2 separate regions of the Homo sapiens genome follow, and region 1 is linked to region 2. Evidence: promoter capture Hi-C in 16 types of primary human blood cells and fetal thymus (Javierre and others, 2016). All regions are on one chromosome and are shown on one strand. Each heading gives the region's core, a stretch centred on a gene start or on the middle of the fragment in contact. The rest is flanking DNA. Distances are from core to core; before and after follow the strand shown.

Region 1 (6,624 bases), core at 333-2,832, 41 kb after region 2:
TCTGTCGCCCAGGCTAGAGTGCAGTGGTGCGATCTTGGCTCACTGTGACCTCCGCCTCTCAGGTTCAAGGGATTCTCCTGCCTCAGCCTCCCAAGTAGCTAGGACTACAGGCTCATGTGACCACACCCAGCTAATTTTTGTATTTTTAGTAGAGACAGGGTTTCACCACGTTGGTTAGGCTGGTCTCAAACTCCTGACCTCAGGTGATCCACCCACCTTGGCCTCCCAAAGTGCTGGGATTTCAGGCGTGAGCCCCTGTGCCTGGCCTATACTCTTAAATGTACAATACATTATTGTTGACTTTAATTGCCCTGTTGTGCTATGAAATGCTAAATCTTATACATTCTATCTAACTATATTTGTGTACCCATTAACCATGCCCACTTCCCCCAATCCCCACTACCCTTCCCAGCCTCTGGTAACCATCATTCTACCCTCTATCTCCATGAGTTCAATTGGTTTAATTTTTAGCTCCCACAAATAAATGAGGACATGTGAAGTTTGTCTTTCTGTGCTAGGCTTATTTCACTTAACATAATGTCCTCCAGTTCCATCCATGTTGTTGCAAATGACAAAATCTCATTCGTTTTTATGACTGAATGGTACTCCATATGTACCATGCTTTCTTTACCCACTTGTCTGTTGCTGGACACTTAGGTTGTTTCCAAATCTTGACTATTCTGAATAGTACTGCAATAAAAATGGGAGTGCGGATATTTCTTGAATATACTGATTTCCTTTCTTTGGGGAATATACCTGGGAGTAGGATTGCTGGATCATATGATAGTTTGATTTTCAGTTTTTTGAGGAACCTCTAAATTCTTCTCCGTAGTAGTTGTACTAATTTACATTCCCACCACCCGTGTATGAAGTTTCCCTTTTCTCCACATCCTCGTCAGCATCTGTTATTGTGTGACTTTTGGATAAAAACCATTTTACCTGCGGTGAGATGATATCTCATTGTAGTTTTGATTTGCATTTCTCTGATGATCAATGATGCTGAGCACTTTTTCATATGCCTATTTGCCATTTATATGTCTTCTTTTGAGAAATGTCTGTTTAAATCGTTTGCCTGTTTTAAATTGAATTACTAATTTCTTTTCCTGTAGAGTTGTTTGCACTCCTTATATATTCTGGTTATTAATCCCTTGTCAGATGAGGAGTTTGCAAATATTTTCTCCCATTCTGTGGGTTGTCTCTTCACTTTATTGATTGTTTCCTTTGCTGTGCTGAAGCTTTTGGATGTGATTCCATTTGTCCATTTTCGCTTTGGTTGCCTGTGTTTGTGGGGTATTATTCCAGAAATCTTTGCCCAGATCAATGTCCTGGAGAGTTTCTCCAATGTTTTCTTTTAGTAGTTTCATAGTTTGAGGTCTTAGATTCAAGTTTTTAATCCATTTTGATTTGATTTTGACTATTTTTTTTTAATTTGATACTATCTTGACCAGCATTGAATAATCTATATCCTAAGGATTTAGAGGAATAATTATCCTTTCAAAAGAATCTTCCTCATCTGATCAAAAATGGAAAGAAACATCTGTTTCCACCCACATCAAGTGTTGTTTTGTTTCAATCCTATTAAAGCAGCCTTGGTCAGGAGATCTTTCCCCTTTTCCTAGCAAGAGGATTTCTTTGGTCCTCAATTTGGTCATTTGTAAAACAAAGGTAGAGAAAATCTACTCAATGATTTTGGTTATTTTTGGCTTTATGGTTTCTTGAAAAGAAAGAACAATAAATGAAGATTCATTGCATAGAAAGGGCCTATTTGGAGTCAACATGCTCAAGGCCAGGAAATAGAAACCACAGGGCTAAGGGGATCAACTGAAGGCATCAGTAGGATGAGGTGAAGCTCTTCTAAGCTGCCAGGTCACAAATCAGGACAGGCAGATGTCCGGTCCCTGACACACTGGCCTGCACAGTGAATGGGCTGTAAGCTTATCCACTAAAGACCTGTCATTGTTGCGGGTGGGTTGGTGGGAGCATAAGGACATGATAATATCACCATGTCTAGTAAGTGGGAGGCTAATCTTAGAAACAGTTTTCAATTCTTTGAAGTTGGTAGTAGCTTCTAATATGGTAGCTATTATTTGCCCATTGCATTCACCATCAGAAAAAGCCCATACAGAGATGAAGCCAGCATATTTTGAATGTACACTGTATAGTTGTTGGCTCTTAATATAAGTAGTATAGCCTGGGAGCATTGAGTAGAGACAAGTAAGAAAGGATGAGCTGATGTTAGGAAATGGACAACATTGAGTATAAGTCAATACTTAGGTAATCTTCAGTCTGTCTCTCACCTACCATTTCTTTCTCCTTCCTATTCTTACCCTCTCTTCCCTCAGGTTTAATCTCCCAATTTAAGAAACAAAAGAAGTTTTTCCACTAGTACCGACTTCAGCCCATTGTTTTGCAATGTCGTTTTGACAGATGTGTCTTTAGTCACACAATTAAATTTTATGTTGACCAGAGACTGAAGACTCCACTAGTTGCCTATTAACGTCAGACTAACAATGGCTTGCACCTGTAATCCTAGCTACTCAGGAGGCTGAGGCAGGAGAATCTCTGGAATCTGAGAGTTCAAGGCCAGCCTGGTCAACAAAGTGAGATCCCGTTTCAAAAACAAAACAAAACAAAATCTTGTTTGCTTAAAATTCTAGTTTTTTTTTCAGACAGTCTTGCTCTGGCGCCCAGGCTGGAGTGCAGTGGTGCGATCTCGGCTCACTGCAAGCTCCGCCTCCTGGGTTCACGCCATTCTCCTGCCTCAGCCTCCCAAGTAGCTGGGACTACAGGCACCCGCCACCACACCCGGCTAATTTTTTGTATTTTTAGTAGAGACAGGGTTTCACCGTGTTAGCCAGGATGGTGTCGATCTCCTGACCTCATGATCCGCCCACCTTGCCCTCCCAAAGTGCTGGGATTACAGGCGTGAGCCCCCGTGCCTGGCCTAAAATTCCAGGTTTTCTGTATTTGTCTTCTCCACTAGACTCTAATCAGCTCCTTATTGGTAGGGACCAAGGTAACAGACATCTCTGTACCTCTGACTCCTTGCATCAAGTCTACCAAAACCATGTCAGGTGCTTGAATAAATATGGAGCAGAGCTAGTTCCAACTTATCATTCCAAACTCATCCCCTACCACTTCCCCAACTTTCCCTACCTTCAGTTACACTGAGGTTTTTCCATTGCCCTAAGCAGGCCTCTTTCTTTTAGGATTTACTGCCTTTTCCCACGTTGATTCCTCTGCTGTGATGCTCCTCCCTGCTGGCCTGGCTGGCTCATTCTTCAAGACCCACTTCAGTTACCAGCAGCTCTGCTGGAGCCTTTCCGAACCCTTGGGCAAAATTAGTAATTCCCTTTACAGATCTTGAACAGTTGTCTGTTCACATCTTGAGTATGGCACTTGATACACTATTGAAAGTATCTGCTTAAGTGATAATAATGGCAGCTAAAGACTGAGCTAATATAATGACTGAGCTTTATAATAGTAAATGGTGTATTATTTTAAATCTAACAGCTCTGAGACACAGAACATCAGCGAGAGGCTGAAATGAAATCGGAAACTATTTTCTGGGTACTAAGAATGTAGGGATCAACTAGACACATGGTAGTTTCTTCCCTCAGGGAGCCCCAACTCTTCAAGGACAGGGATCAAATAGTAGTAAATATGTGGCATTTATTGAATGTTTGATGTTTACCTGGCACACTGAAGACATTATCTGTAAATATTACAGCTACTCTACAAGGCAGGTGTTATTATCTCCATTTCACAGAAGGGGAAACTTATATGCTCAAGATCACACTGCTGGTGCTAGGATTTGAACCCAAAGTATCTAACTTCAAAGTATCCTACTGATCTCTATATTCTAAGTGCGGAACACGTAGTAGGGGCATAATAAAGAGTGTTGGATGAACAAATTTCTATAAGCAGGTTCCTTCTCCCACACTACAAATATTAATAGTGCTCTTTTGTTGAAATATTTCTTGGTCTCAGCTCTGTTCTCATTATACATAGTGGCATCAGGGAAAATTAAATGCTGTCTTGGAATGACCAGTAGTGCCAATTAACCAAGAACATTAGGAAATTGTAAATGATTATAATTCAACAATAATTAATTAAAAGGATGTAATTTTACTAAAAATAAGATGTAAAAATTAGCGAAGTTGAGCAAAATTCAGAAATAGACCTTTAATTATAGAAATTGAGCATATTGAAACTGAGATCCTCATAAAACAATAAGAAAGAAAAGAAATATATAAAGACCTCATTTAAATAAAGAAAAACATTATCACCCAAGTTGATAAATTGGACACTGTTAGAATGTGAAAAGAACATTGGAGGATCAGCGACATTGATTCCAGATCTGATACTTACAGCTGAGTAAATTCAAGCTATTTTTTTTTCTCTCTGAAATTGGGCTCATCAACAAAATAAGGATAGCAATTAATTCACTGAGTTGTTGTGAGGATCAAATGAGAATACTACCTAATTTACTACCTAACAACACATACTTGGCACTCAGTAATAAGTCTGCATCTCATACTTTAAAAAATGAATACATGGGCCGGGTGGGGTGGCTCATGCTTGTAATCCCAGCACTTTGGGAGGCAGAGGTGGGTAGATCACCTGAGGTCAGGAGTTCGTGACCAGCCTGGCCAAAATGGTGAAACCCTGTCTTTACTAAAAATACAAAAATTAGCTGGGCATGGTGGTGGGCGCCTGTAATCCCAGCTACTTGGGAGGCTGAGGCAGGAAAGTTGCTTGAACCCAGGAGGCGGAGGTTGCAGTGAGCCAAGACCATGCCATTGCACTCCAGCCTGGGCAACAAGAGCAAAACTCAAAACTCCATTTCAAAAAAAAAAAAAAAAAGAAGAATACATGAATAAATATAATTTTAAAAAAGTGAACCTTTGTTAAAATGTGATAAAGTAATATATGTTAAAAGAGTTATTTATATTAGCCATCATAGAAGTGCAAATTAAAACCATGGTGAGATACCAGTACACGTTTAACAAAATGGCTCAAATAAAAAAATTTGGACAATACCAAATGTTGGGGAAAATAAAGAAAAACTGAATAATTCATACATTGCTGGTGGGAATGTAAAATAGTACAGCCACTCTGGAAAACAGTTTGGCAATATTTTACAAAGTTAAACATATACTTATCATATAACCAGGCAATCACACTCCTGAAAATTTATCCTAGAGAAATGAAAACTTAATGTTTATGCAAACATTTGTACACAAATATTTCTTGGAGCTTTATCTTAACAACCAAAAACTGGAAACAACCCAAATGCCCTTTACAAAATAAATGGATAAGCAGACTGTGGGACATCCATACATGAAATACTACTCAGTAATAAGGAGGGAGCTATGGATACACCCAGCAACTTAGATGGATCTCAAAGTCATGCTCAATGGGAAAAGCCAATCTCAAAAGGTTAAATACTGTATAGTTCTATTTATATAAGTTTCTCGAAATAGTAATAATAATAATATGGGGAACAGAGCAGAGGTTAGGGAGAGAGAAGGAAATAAAGGATAGCAACGCACTGACATTCCTTTGCAGTGACAGAATGGTCTGTATCTTTTTTTTTTTTTTAATCCATCAAGTCCTTTTTTTTTTCTTTTTGAGACAGGGTCTCACTCTGTCATCCAGGCTGGAGTGCAGTGGTGCGATCTCGGCTTACTGCAACCTCTGCCTCCTGGGTTCAAGCCATTCTGCTGCCTCAGCCTCTGGAGTAGCCAGGACTACAGGTGTGCACCACCACGCCTGGCTAATTTTTTTGTCTTTTTAGTAGACATGGGTTTTGCCATGTTAGCCAGGCTGGTCATGAACTCCTACCTCAAGTGATCCACCTCCCAAAGTGCTGGGATGACAGGCATGAGCCACGGCGCCCAGGGATTACACTTCAACATGAGATTTGGGCGGGGACAAATTTCCAAACTATATCTCACACACACACACTGAAAAATATGAGTACAGGCAAAATCTGGTGAAATCTTTTTCTTTTTCTTTTTTTTTTTTTTTTTTTTTTTGAGACAGAGCTGGTGCCTCGGCTGCCTGAGTAGCTGGGATTACAGGTGCTGCCACCATACCTGGCTAATTTTTTTGTCTCCACACCCAGGGATTACATTTCAACATGAGATTTGGGTGGGGACAAGTTTCCAAACTATATCACACACACACACACTGAAAAATATGAGTACAGGCAAAACCTAGTGAAATCTTTTTTCAAGCAATTCTCCTGCCTCAGCCTGCCAAGTAGGTGGGATAGCAGGCAGGTGTGCACCACCACGTCTGACTCATTTTTGTATTTTTAGTAGAGACAGGGTTTCACCATGTTGGCCATGCTGGTCTTGAACTCTGGGCCTCAAGTAATCTACCTGCCTTGGCCTCCTCTCAAAGTGCTGGGATTACAGGAGTGAGCCACCGCTCCTGGCCAACGTTCATAATTGTTGACCTGGTAATTGCCATTTCTGGTCATTTCTCCTAAGGAACTAATCCCCTAAAAGGTAAACACTATAGTTATTCTCATTTGTGATAGTAAAATATCCATATACAAACAAGTATTCCAAGAGGTAGGCAAACTAATTAAGTAAATTATGGTACATGTATTAA
Region 2 (6,923 bases), core at 468-2,967:
TTAGTACAAAAATTTTTACTAAAGAAATGTATTTCTAGTAGAGACGGGGTTTCACTATGTTGGCCAGGCTGGTCTTGAACTCCTGACCTTGTGATCCACCTGCCTCGGCCTCCCAAATTGCTGGGATTTCAGGCGTGAGCCACTGCACCCAGCCTGTTTTGGTTTTTTGAGACAGGGTCTCCCTCTGTTGCCCAGGCTGGAGTGCAGTGGCATGATCTCGGCTCACTGCAGCCTCCACCTTTCCGGTTCAAGCGATTCTTGTGCCTCAGCCTCCCAAGTAGCTCACACCCAGCTAAGTTTTGTATTTTTAGTAGAGACAGGGTTTCACCATGTTGGCCAGGCTGGTCTCAAACTCCTGACCTCAGGTGATCTGTCCTTCTTGCCTCCCAAAGTGCTGGGATTACAGGCGTGAGCCACTGCCCCGGCTTGGTTTGTTTTTTGAGACATGGTCTCACTCTGTCGCACAGGACGGAGTGCAGTAGTGTGATCTTGGCTCCCGTGCTCAAGTGATCCTCCCACCTCAGCCTCCCAAAGTGCTGAAATTACAGGCGTGAGCCACGGTACCCGGCCTATATCTCCTAATTAAAAGTAAAGCCTGGGTGAAGTTTATGGCCTGCTAAATACGTACATGTATTATATGCGTTATTATATCCCATGTGTTATATTATATATTATTGTATATGTGTATTATATACTATGTACTATTCTTACAACTGTATGTGAATCTATAATTATCTCAAAGTTTTGTTTTTGTTTTTTAAAGTAAGTTCTGTGAGAACTGGGATTTTGTTTGCTTGTTGACGATTGTGTCTTCATCACTAGAACCGAGTCTGGCGTGCAGTGGGCACTAAATAAGTCTTCGTAAAAAGTGTAAATTAACGCCCGGCTAATTTTTGTATTATTAGCAGCGACGGGGTTTCACCATGTTGGCCAGGCTGGTCTCGAACTCCTGCCCTCAAGCAGGAGTTTCAAGCCCGCCTCGGCCTCCCAAAGTGTTGGAATTACAGGCGTGGGCCACCGCGCCTGGCTGATCATGTTTAAAGGGCGGGGTGGGGAGCGTACAAACAACAGAGGAAATCCTGAGCCGCAGAGGAAACTGGAGATGGCAGGGTTTAGCACTAGAATCTCTGTAGGAGAGGTAAGATTGGAATCCTAATCTCCAGGACTCTTTCCACTACCCAGGCTATCTCTCCATTAATGGACTATTGATTGGATGACAGAGTAGCGATAGCACCGTCTTAGGAGACGCCCAATCATAGGTCATAGGTCATTTTTGCAGCTTATTGTGATGACAACAGTGGAGGATGGTCTTCCACTTCACCTTAAAAGCGGCTGTTCTCTGATTATCATTAAGCATGGCCACGCCCGCACTTAACTTCTGACAGTGGGGAAAGCAGCTGTGTGTGATAGCTTGGAAGGTTTACTGCTGCCTCAAGTCCTCTTCTCTGCAGTTGAGGTTTCAGGTTTCAATCCTCCCAATACCACAAGACAGAGCACGGGGCGGCTGCCGCCTCCGCCTCCGCGCCTTAACCTAGGCGGCTTGCCGAAGATCTCAGCCCCGCGGCCGCGCGCTCGCCCTGCCCTAGACCAGGGTTGGGCGCAGCGGCGGAGGTGGCTTCTGGGCTGCGCGAGCTGGGAGAGCTGGGAGGCGGCGATCGCAGCTGGGCCGGGACTTCCTTCCTCCACCGCACGGCAACAAAACAACCCTGCGGCAGGCACTGAGTGCTTCGCAGCTGTCTGGGCGAGAGGCACAGCGATGGGCTCCGTGCTGAGCACCGACAGCGGCAAATCGGCGCCCGCCTCTGCCACCGCGCGGGCCCTGGAGCGCAGGAGGGACCCGGAGTTGCCCGTCACGTCCTTCGACTGCGCCGTGTGCCTTGAGGTGTTACACCAGCCTGTCCGGACCCGCTGTGGCCACGTGTAAGTTCCAGGGGAGCTCGGTTTGCGCCCACCCCTAAGGAGGGCGATGTGGGGAAGCTGAGGGCATGGTGTGGGGAAGGAGGGGGACGGAAGACAGCCTCTTAGGAAATTGCTGCAGGGAGAAACCTGGACCCGTCGGATGCAGGACCACGGGGAAAACGCGGGTCGGAAGGTGACACAGGATTTCGGGAGGAGAAAAAATAAACAAGCGGGTCCTGTAGCCCCCTTGCGCTTTCAGCTCCCGAAGCCCAGGTGCGGAACTCCAGAGAAGGGGATCCAGGCACGGGTCCCGCCCAGAGCCAGGGCTCGCCAACTGGGGAGGGTGCTCTTGGCTGGAGAACCAGCGCTCGCCCAGGCACGGAAAGGAAACGAGCTCCAGCTACAAGGCAGGGGCTCCCGCAAAGCGCAGTTACCCCGCTGAACACGGTAGAACGGGCTGCGCTTCCCTCTGCCCCAGAAACCCGGGTCCGTTTTGTTTTGCTGGAGCTGTGCACGTGTTCCCAGAATGCCCACAGAGGCTCGTCTTAAGCAAACAAGGATCTGTGCAAAGTGTCTTTCCACCCCCACCCCTGCTACCCTTTCCCAACACAGACACCCAGCCCCTCAAAGGGCAAGTCAAACTGGAGCTTCCGAGTGACTTTCCACAGTTGTTAGAGTTTAACAACCTGCTAGGGTGGGGCTTGGACGTTAGCCGCCAAGCCCCTGAATGTACTCCTTCAAAACCCAGCCACAACGTAACAGGAGGTGGCAGGCTACCTGCTTTACGCACGGTCTCTCCAAACCGGCGGAAATTACAGAGTAAAATAACTTTCTCAAAACCGCATAGTACTTAGCTAAAACTCACAGTTGGTGCAAAGCCGTGGTCGTTTCTAAGAAGAATTTAAAAACAAAGTCCCTATATAAAATTGGCACATCCTTAATGTGTGTTTGAATAACTGGTGGAGTTGGAGCTGTGAATTTGTGCTCTCTGTTTACTGTGTGTGTGTGTGTGTGTGTGTGTGTGTGTTTGAGAGAGAGAGAGAGAGACGTAGTCTGGCTCTGTCGCCCAGGCTGGAGTGCGGTGGTGCTATCTCGGCTCACTGCAACCTCCGCCCACTGCAACCTCCGCCTCCCAGGCTCAAGTGAGTCTCCTGCCTCAGCCTCCCGAGTTGCTGGGATTACAGGCGCCCACCCCCACACCCGGCTAGTTTTTGAATTTTGAGTAGAGATGGGGTTTCACCATGTTGGCCAGGCTGGTCTTGAACTCCTGACCTCAATTGATCCACCCACCTCGGCCTCCCAAAGTGCTGGGATTAAAGGTGTGAGCCACTGCACCCAGCCTTCTCTCTTTGCTTTGATTTTTTTTCGTGGATACGTGTGTGTGTGTTGTGTCTGCACAGATCAGGAGCGGAAGCCTACTTAATGTCCTTTGAAGGGTGACTATAGTATGATGAAGCCATGTGTGATACCACAGTGGCTTGTACCAGCATTTGGCTTAGCAGGAAGAAAGAAATACCGTTATTATGAATGCAAGTGCACAACATGTTTTTGAGGACCACTTTTGAAAGGATTTAGGTAGTCCTTAAAAACATGTTGTGCACTTGCAGTCAAAAGTTTTGACGCCCGGCGTGGTGGCTCACACCTGTAATCCTAGCACTTTGGGAAGCCGAGGTGGATGGATCACCTGAGGTCAGGAGTTCGAGACCAGCCTGGCCGACATGGTGAAACCTCGTCTCTACTAAAAATACAAAAATTAGCCAGGTGTGGTGACCCGTGCCTGTAATCCCAGCTACCTGGGAGGCTGAGGCAGGAGAACTGCTTGAACCTGGGAGGCAGAGGTTGCAGTGAGCTGAGATGGCATCATTGCACTCTAGCCCGGGCAACAGAGCAAAACTCAGTCTCAAAAAAAAGAAAGAAAAAAAAGAAAGTTTTGAAAGGACTTAGGTAATCCTTAATACCTATAGCCTTGTATCTGAAAAGCAGTTTTCACTACTGCCCGTCTGTGAGCCAGGGACAAAAGTGTGCAGCCTGCACAATGTATAAATAAAGAGTGCTTTGGGCATTATTTCGTAGCTGTGTTTTCTTTTCTTTTGAGATGGAGTCTTGCTGTGTTGCCCAGGCTGGAGTGCAGTGGCACGATCTTGGCTCACTGCAAGCTCCGCCTCCCGGGTTCACGCCATTCTCCTGCCTCAGCCTCCCGAGTAGCTGGGACTACAGGTGCCGCCACCACGCCCGGCTAATTTTTTTGTATATTTAGTAGAGACGGGGTTTCACCGTGTTAGCCAGGATGGTCTTGATCTCCTGACCTCGTGATCTGCCCGCCTCGGCCTCCCAAAGTGCTGGGATTACAGGCGTGAGCCATGGAGCCCGGCCGTAGCTGTATTTTCAAGGCCTGTTGTTTCAGCTTTGTTCTTAAAACTCGAGGCTTAAATTTACCCTCCTTTCTATTACTGATGTTGTTGCTCAGCTGTCCAGATGTAGCTTATTAACATAATATCCACAGGCCAGTCTGGAAGCCAAGATGGGCTGTGTGAGTCATAAAATATATTGATTATTTTAGGGCAATAACAGCCTAAAGATATCTCCATTTAAATTGAGTCATTATTAGCATTAAAACTTTAAAGTTGTGCAAAACATAAACAGTGGGCGTTTTGAAGATTCTTTTTGGAACAGACCGCTTTGCTATTCAATGATCTGACTGGAGATTGTTTTCTCGGTTTGGACTTTGAATATTATAATTTACCATTTACAATATTTTTCCTTCTACTAAAGGATAATATAAATTTGCAAAATGTTAAATTTTTTGTTTAATCTTTTTCTTTGTTAAAGTGAATAGGAAACTAGCAACTGGAAAAATAGTCATAAAATAGCATTACAAGGGCTGAACAAATTGCCTTTCCTCTCTTTACTGTTCTTTGTTTTGACAAATCTATGTCCATTGTTCTGGCTGTGGGCAGAATTTCCATATTCCTCCTTTTGGCAAACTTACTTGGTCCCCTTCCACTTTATAAATGTTAACCAGAGTCCTTTCTGCAGTAGAGATTGTGAGCGTTAATACCATTTGTACATTCTAAATGAATTACTCTTTTCCATTGAAATTAAGTTGGAAAACGAATAAATGCAAATGAACCTTCTGTATTTTATTATCCCATATTGAAGCTACATTTTCAGACATGTTGAACTAGGTGGTTTATGCTGATTTTTGTTTGTAAACCTATTTCAAGTCAAACAAGTTTAATAATAACAACAGTACCTTGAATGAATATGTAAGAGCACTTTATAAGTTGTATTGTGATGCAGTAGTAACTGGCCCTTACAGAGAGCTGGATTTGAAATTCACCTCTGCCACTAGCCAGATGTGTGACCACTTTAGGGAAATTTGAATTTGATTTTTTTCCCCTAAAGTTTTGATCATTTGAGTCTATGAAACAAACTGCTAATAGATTAACAAGGGGGGAAAAGCTTACAAATGTATTAATGAGCATATGGGCATGGGAGTCATACAAAATATGAAAACTGAGAGAAAGGGCCAGATGCTTGATGCTTTTATACCATCTTGAGGTTACAGCAGAGTAGGGGCTTGGAACATGGTTATGGGAGGGAGAAAGAAAGAAGGGGCTGGGGCAAAGATGGTCTAGTTATGCAGATGAAACTTCATAGATAGCAGCTCCTAGAAAGAATAGGCATGAGCCTGTGTTAAGTTGCTCTGTCAGACCTTCGTAGGTGTCAGACTTTCAGTTAATAATTTCCTAGGTACAGATAAGGGGGTGCCTCCAAGAAAGCCTGGTTGTTTATTTCACCAGTGTAGATTTTCTCTACAGATGCAAGTCTCCTCCACAAAAGGCAGCTTTTCAGGGTTATTCCTGTGGGAATATATCAAAGAAGTACATTTTGGGGTGAAATATTTTCAGTTTCCTTTAGTCCCCCATTTAAAGCTTAATTTTTAAAACATTAAACATTTCCTTTATTTTTATTATTTATTTATTTATTTTTAGCGGTGAGATCTCACTCTGCCACCCAGGCTGCAGTGTAGTGGTGCAATCATGGCTCACTGCAGCCTCCACCTCCTGGGCTCAGCAATCCTCCTGCCTCAGCCTCTCACGTAGCTGGGACTATAAGTGCCTGCCACCATGCCTGGCTATTTTTCACTTATTTGTTTATTTTGAGATGGAGTCTCACTCTGTCACCTAGGCTGGAGGGCAGTGGCGTGATCTCAGCTCGCTGCAACCTCTGCCTCCCAGGTTCAAGTGACTGTCCCGCCTCAGCCACTCTAGTAGCTGGGATTACAGACATGCACCACCACACCTGGCTAGTTTTTGTATTTTTTGTAGAGGCAGGGTTTCGCCATTTTGCCCAGGCTGGTCTTGAACCCCTGAGCTCAGGTGATTTGCCTGCCTCGGCCTCCCAAAGTGCTGGAATTACAGGAGTGAGCCACTGCACCCAGCCAAGAAAGTGACAATTCTTTACATACCGCAAGGTCAGGATTTTGTAAGGGAACCATATACACAGGGTACCAGGCCAATCTTTTTCTAAGTCTGTTGGCTTTTTAATGTCAATTTCAGTCCCTCAAAACAGTTTGATCATGTATCTAAGTATGACATTCCAGTTAAAGCCTTGCTAAAATAACCACTGTCTCCAATTATGTCCTGTTCAGACTGTTACTGAACTTATGCATGTAACTATATTGCCATGAAATAGGAATACTCAAAACCCAGTTTGTGAATCCAAAGAGAAAAAGGTAAATTATTTTGCTCACAAAAGTATACTTGGCCAGGTGCAGTGGCTCATGCCTGTAATCCCAGGACTTTGGAAGGCCGATGCAGGAGGATGGCTTGAGACCAGCAGTTTGTGACTAGCCTGGGCAACATAGTGAGACCCCATCTCTACTACACAAAAGTCTTGTTCAAAAGAGAAAACCATATTTTACTTTTGAATCAGTATATCAATAATAAATTTAAATAAAACCTAATAAACAAGTCCATCCAATTTCAGTCAGCTTTGACCACACAAGATTTACATATCTT

Evidence for each region. Contacts are between HindIII fragments. The CHiCAGO score rates a contact against its expected background, and 5 or more counts as called.
Region 1: a contact is called between a fragment that was not itself captured here and the fragment with the promoter of RNF125 in region 2, in 3 of 17 cell types (total CD8 T cells, naive CD8 T cells and activated CD4 T cells). The highest score is 6.5, in total CD8 T cells.

What each region holds. Positions count from the first base shown.
Region 1 is chr18:32,058,379-32,065,002 of GRCh38, forward strand. All of the region lies in intron 4 of RNF125 (ring finger protein 125), which reads left to right. Among named protein-coding and RNA genes, the nearest start is that of RNF138, 30 kb to the right of the region's middle. The HindIII fragment of the contact is 699 bases long and covers 1,234-1,932 here.
Region 2 is chr18:32,017,108-32,024,030 of GRCh38, forward strand. It overlaps RNF125 (ring finger protein 125), which reads left to right and starts at 1,718. Exons shown (of 6, transcript NM_017831.4): 1 at 1,718-1,920. The coding sequence starts at 1,757. RefSeq lists enhancers at 1,040-1,912, 1,319-1,613, 1,913-2,785, 2,430-2,479 and a silencer at 1,319-1,613. The HindIII fragment of the contact is 17,285 bases long and covers 1-5,359 here.